Regions from separate parts of the Homo sapiens genome. Here region 1 is linked to region 2. The links are contacts of gene promoters, found by promoter capture Hi-C in blood cells and fetal thymus (Javierre and others, 2016). All regions are on one chromosome and are shown on one strand. The core of a region is centred on a gene start or on the middle of the fragment in contact, and the rest is flanking DNA. Distances in the headings are between cores, read along the strand shown. Region 1 holds the start of CCDC188 (coiled-coil domain containing 188). Region 2 holds the start of SCARF2 (scavenger receptor class F member 2).

Region 1 (2,700 bases), core at 172-2,671, 290 kb before region 2:
GGTGGGGGGTCAAGGATGGGTCTGCCCTGTCCTGACCAGGACACCTTCTGAGACCCTGCTCAGCTGGCCCGGCCCCTGCCCCCGTGTTACCTGAGAATCTCCAGCTGGATGTCCTCCATCTGGTCCAGCACGCCCCGGATGTCCTTCTTGAGGTTCTGGGGGCCAGAGGAGGTAAGCACAGCAGGCCCCTCGCCCCGCCCTCCGTGGCCTCTCGCCCGCCGGGCCCCGTCCTTCTGGGTGCTGCCCTGTGGGGACCTACCAGGAGCCCGGTGGCCTGGTTGTTCAGGGCCATGTGCATCTCAGCCACGTTGTCCCACACCTAGGGGGAGGTGGGGTCACGCCTGAGGAGCAGGACCCACTGGGTGGGCCCCCAGCACCCCTCCCCCTCAGCCAGGCGGGCACCTCTGTGATGACCATCTTCTTCCTCTCAAAGCACAGGCGGATCTGCTGCAGCTCGTTCTGAGGGTGGGGCCCAGGATGGGCTTGGGCAGCATCAGCAGGGTGGCCAGTACCTCCCCGCTGGGCCCACTGGCCTACTGCACGAAGACCTCCCTCCCTAATGAATCCCTCAGGCCCACCTGGAGTGCTGTTACGAAGCTTCCTCCCCCCCCACAGCCCCTCCCCCAGGCCCACCTGGGACTGTTGCACGAAAGCCTCTTGCCCCTGGCACAGCTCCCGCCGCAGCAGCTGCAGAGGTGCCCTGTTCCCCAAGGGCTGCGTGCCAGCCGGGTCGGGGGGCTGTGGGAGAGCCCCCAGATCAGCCCTAAGACTGCGGGCTAGAGGGGCGTTGGCTGCATGGGGTCCCTGGGCCCTGTATTTACCCAGGCCAGAGCAGTGCAGCTTGAGTGTTCGGGACACAGGGGCAGGAACTGCTGCCCCGGCCCCAGGAGGGCCCCCAGCTGCTCCCGAAGTTCCTGATTCTGCCTTTTCTGGGGTGGGGGGCAGAGAGAGGGGGCTGCCTGTCATGGCCGCTCCTGCGGCTGGGGCTGGGGCAGGGGCAGGGGCGCCAGGTGGTGGGTGGGGCTGGGGCTGGGGCAGGGGCAGGGGCAGGGGCGCCAGGTGGTGGGTGGGGCTGGGGCTGGGGCAGGGGTACCAGGCGGTGGGTGGGGCTGGGGCTGGGGCTGGGGCGGTGGGTGGGGTGCTCACCAGGCTGTGGTTCTCCTGCTCCAGCTGCAGGAAGGACTGTTCTGCAGAGCCCAGCAGCCCGCACTGAAGCTGGGACAGGGCTACCCTGGGCGAGGCCAGGGCCCCTCCCTCCCGTGACAGGGGTGGGCATGGGCAGGGTCTGGTCCCTGAGCCAATGGATCCCCCCTGCCTGGGAGCCCCCTGGTTCGACCCTGGGTGCAGGGGCCAGCCCCACCCAAGCCCTGCCTCCAGGTCTCCTTGTCTCGGCCCCTCAGTGTCTCTCGCTCTCTGCTCCTGGCTGGACAGAAAGAGCCCGGGAGCCTCGCCCTCCACTGTGGGCCCACTGCCCCCTGCCCCTGGGACTGGGAAAGGTCTCTGGGACTGCACTGAGTGAGCAGAGGAGATGGGGCCCAGGCAGGGCCACCCTACAAATCCCTGGCAGGGCTGGTCCAGGCCTCCTCCATGGCTGCTGGAGGCTGGGGTTGGGGGACACTGGGGGTGGGGGTGGCCGCAGGGGCCCAGGGTTTTCAGCCCCTCCATCCCTCCCTGCAACCCCTTCCTGATCCCAGGTCCAGGCTCTGGCCTGGCCCAACCTGCCACCCTCTTACTGAGGGGGCTGCCCCAGGCAACAGTCACAAAGGCCTGGGTGCAGCCAGGGCGGTCACAATGGGCCCCTCCCACCTGGTCCTGAAGCTGCCCCGCCTGATGACCTCACTGCCTCTGACCCACTGACCCACCATGCGAGTTTTCTTTCTTTCTTTCTTTTATGGGAAGGGGACTTGCTCTGTCACCCAGGCTGGAGTGCAGTGGCACAAGGTGTCTCATTGCAGCCTCCAACTCCTGGGCTCAGGCAATCCTCCCACCTCAGCCTCCCAAGTAGCTAGGACTACAGATGTGTGCAACCATGCCCGGCTAATTTTTAAGTTTTTTGTAGAGATAAGGGTCTCGCTATGTTGCCCAGGCTGGTCACAAACTCCTGGCCTCAAGCGATCCTCTTACCTCAATATCTGAAAGTGTTGGGATTACGGATGTGAGCCACTGCACCCAGCCTAGTTATAAAACAGATAATACACACACTCACAGTGTGGATTCAAAAAGTATCAAACAATAAAAATGGTGTCCAAGCTTTTCCCACCTTTATCTCCTGTCCCTGCAGACAGGAGCTTCCTCTTTAAGCTCCTAGAGGTGGGCTGCCGTCCCCTGCCCCTGGTTCACACAGAAGAGGTCATCCTGTAGCCCAGCTTTGCTTTTCACCTAATATATCTCTGAGGTTTTAAAACATTCTTTTCTAGCTATGTATTGAATATTTACATTATGCCAGATCCAGTACATGCCATTGTTATCCTCTGTTTTTTTTTTTTTTTTTGAGACGGAGTCTTGCTCTGTCGCCCAGGCTGGAGTGCAGTGGCGCAATCTCGGCTCACTGCAAGCTCCGCCTCCCAGGTTCACGCCATTCTCCTGCCTCAGCCTCCCGAGTAGCTGGGACTACAGGCGCCTGTCACCGCGCCCGGCTAATTTTTTTGTATTTTTAGTAGAGACGGGGTTTCACCGTGTTAGCCAGGATGGTCTCGATCT
Region 2 (2,700 bases), core at 14-2,513:
TCGCAGCCCCTTGTCTCTGGCGCCGAGCCCCTGGACTCGGCTTGCCCCGGGTCCGTGGCTCAGGCGCCCCGACGCGACCCAGCTCGGAGCCCGGCGGCCGCCTCTGCGGCTGCCAGCCCGTGCGGCGTCTCCAATCCGCGCCAAGGCGCCCCCACACGCCCGCTCCTCACCCCTGCGTGGAGATGCCCTTGACCTTGTGGCCTTTGGCCAGCCCACCGGCTCCCCCGACCCCAGCTCCTAACTCCTGGCGTCCGGGGCTCACCTCTCTGCCCTCCGTGCAAACTCCCGGACTCGCCCCCCCACCGGCCGGGCCTGTCGCCTGCCTGTCCCACACTGGCTTCCCCAGCCGGCGCCCCACATTTGCGCGGCCCCTTCTTGCACCCAGAATCCCCACCTGGTTGTCGCCAGGGTTCCCACATCCTCCGGTCCCCTGTGCCTGTCATAGTCCTTCCGCCTCCCGCTTCTGGTCCACTTCGAGCGCCGGCTCCTCGACGCTCGCCTGGGTCACCACCCTCCCACCCGCGCCCGCTCTAAGACGCGAATCTGTCTTTCCAAGTCTGGCTTGCTCCAGGACCTCCCCGGCTAGCACCGCTCCTCCTCCCCTGACCTTCCTCCTCACTCCCACTCCCGGCTCCAGTCGGACTAGTGCGGGGCTTTAGCACATGCAGTTCCTTTGGCTTGAATGCCCTTCCCCAGCTTTTCCCCGTGGACTTCACAACTCGGTCAAGGGTCCCTTTTTCCAGGTCTTTCCTGATATCCCGGACAACGCGTGTCATCCCCTGGGTGCCCACGGCACTCCATCCTCCCCTCAGGTGACTTCTCGTCCAGGGTTCCCTGGGATGCACTGTCGTGGCCCATGGCCGAGGCTGGGCCTGGAACGGAGCCGCGCTGGCTAGGGAGCCGAAGGGGCCCACACTTGGCGTAGGAAGGTTCCGGTAGCCCCCTCCCAATGCCCGGCGCCGCCACACCACTGCCCAGAGCGTCCCTCTCGCCCCCTCCCCCAGCCAGGCCGGCTCCTACCCGGGAGCACGGCACACGTTGCGGCCGCGAGGGTTCAGTTCCTGAGGCGCCACGGTGTCCGGCAGCATCCAGAGCAGCAGCAGCAGCAGCAGCGACGGCAGCAGCGGTGACGGCGGCCCCCCGGCTCCCCGGCGCCGCGCCGGCCCGGCCCCCCGGGGCCCTGCGCCCTCCATGAGGCGCGGGGCAGGCGCGGGGCGGGCACGGGCGCGGGTGCGGCCGCAGCGAGAGCGGCCGGAAGCGGAGTGCGAGGCCGGGCGGGGGGCGGCAGGAGGGGCGCCGAGCCGGGCAGGAAATTCCACATCGGCTCCCTGATCCCGGGCCAGCCGCGGCCGGCCAGGCGGCAGCGCCCGCCCCGCGCTCCAGACCCCACCCTCCGGCCTAGCCACCGCCCCTCCGCGCAGCCCCCGCCCCCATTTGGCCGCTCGCAAACTTGGGGGCGAACTTGGAGGAGGCCCGCCGAGCGCTGGTGGAGGGAGGGTCCGCCCGAGGAATCCCCGGTTCCCGCGCCTTTCCCTCCGCTCCCTAGACATCTACCGAAGCAGCCGCCCCTGCGCGCCCACTGCGTAGGCCAGGCCCGGGACGGGAAGGCGGATCGGGGACACGGACGCGACTCCGCAAGCCCACCCCCGCTCCCAGCGCCTCGGAACCGGCCAAGGGAGTGGGGCCCGCAGACAGCCCAGGTCGAGGCCGAAAGCCAACTCCACAGCACCCCACCGCGAAGTCCTTGTAGTGCTGGGGTGTGCGGTCAGCTCCCCCTGCGCACTCCTGCGCACTCAGAGCTCGCAAGGGGCGGACCGAGCAGGATGCTTGAGGCCTGTGGTAGACTCGGTCCGGACCAGAGGCCTGGGGGAAGGGGTCTCCGTAGGGACGGATGGGAGAGATACAGAGGAAGTAGAATGGCCAGGCTGTGGACTGCGGTAGGAAGTAGAGGTAAAGACAGAAGGAGACCCCCGGGATGGAAACCCTGCAGTCCTAGTTGAGGAGTGAAGGGGGCTGGGGGAGCCTGGGCGGTGGATTCTGCTGGCTGTCGGATTTCCAGGAGAGGCTGGGGCTAGAGAGTGGGAACTCCTGCATCAGGTAAGGTGGGTAACAGCACAGAGCAGAAGGAAGGTGTGGGAAGGGAGCAAGACAGAGGGACAGGCCCTAGGGAGCCAGCGGGGAAGCTGGACTTGGACTGGGAGGCAGCAGGGTGCGGGTCCCCGGGGGGCAACTGGGGCAGACCGACTCTGGAAGTTGGGCAGGGAGCACAAATGTCCCGTGTGTAGCCAGGTCCTAGTGAGGATGTTTGTCTTTTGGGGACTTGAGAGCTGGCAGAAGGCCTAAGCAGGGAGCGGGCACCTCCGTTCTTTGGGGAGCAGGCCACATGCGGCCCACAGGCTCACTGAGGGAGGGCAGGCAGACTCTGTCCAGGTGTGGCCAGATAGCCCCGAAGGGTGGGGCTGGAGGAGGGGGCTTGGAGGAGGAGCCACTGAAAGGCCCAAGGCCATGGGCATCACCAGGCTGGCACAGGCAGAGAGTGGGATGGGGAGGAGCAGGCCCCTCACTCAGCCATGCTGGTGCAGGAGGGAGGTGGGGTGGGCTGAAAGAGAAGTGGAACTAGTGTGGACACGAATGCAACTACCTGGGGACAAATAAACAGGCCAACCACTTCTGGGCAGCTCAGCCTGGGCACAGCCCTGA

The links. Contacts are between HindIII fragments. The CHiCAGO score rates a contact against its expected background, and 5 or more counts as called.
Region 1: a contact is called between a fragment that was not itself captured here and the fragment with the promoter of SCARF2 in region 2, in 1 of 17 cell types (M0 macrophages). The highest score is 5.6, in M0 macrophages.

Annotation. Positions count from the first base shown.
Region 1 is chr22:20,149,322-20,152,021 of GRCh38, forward strand. It overlaps CCDC188 (coiled-coil domain containing 188), which reads right to left and starts at 1,734. Exons shown (of 9, transcript NM_001365892.2): 1 at 1,147-1,734; 2 at 822-929; 3 at 634-738; 4 at 403-459; 5 at 260-319; 6 at 91-155. The coding sequence starts at 1,665. The HindIII fragment of the contact is 1,653 bases long and covers 596-2,248 here.
Region 2 is chr22:20,436,562-20,439,261 of GRCh38, forward strand. It overlaps SCARF2 (scavenger receptor class F member 2), which reads right to left and starts at 1,264. Exons shown (of 11, transcript NM_182895.5): 1 at 1,021-1,264. The coding sequence starts at 1,193. LOC107985588 (a long non-coding RNA gene) reads left to right here and starts at 1,435. Exons shown (of 2, transcript XR_001755623.2): 1 at 1,435-1,950. The HindIII fragment of the contact is 6,009 bases long and covers 1-2,700 here.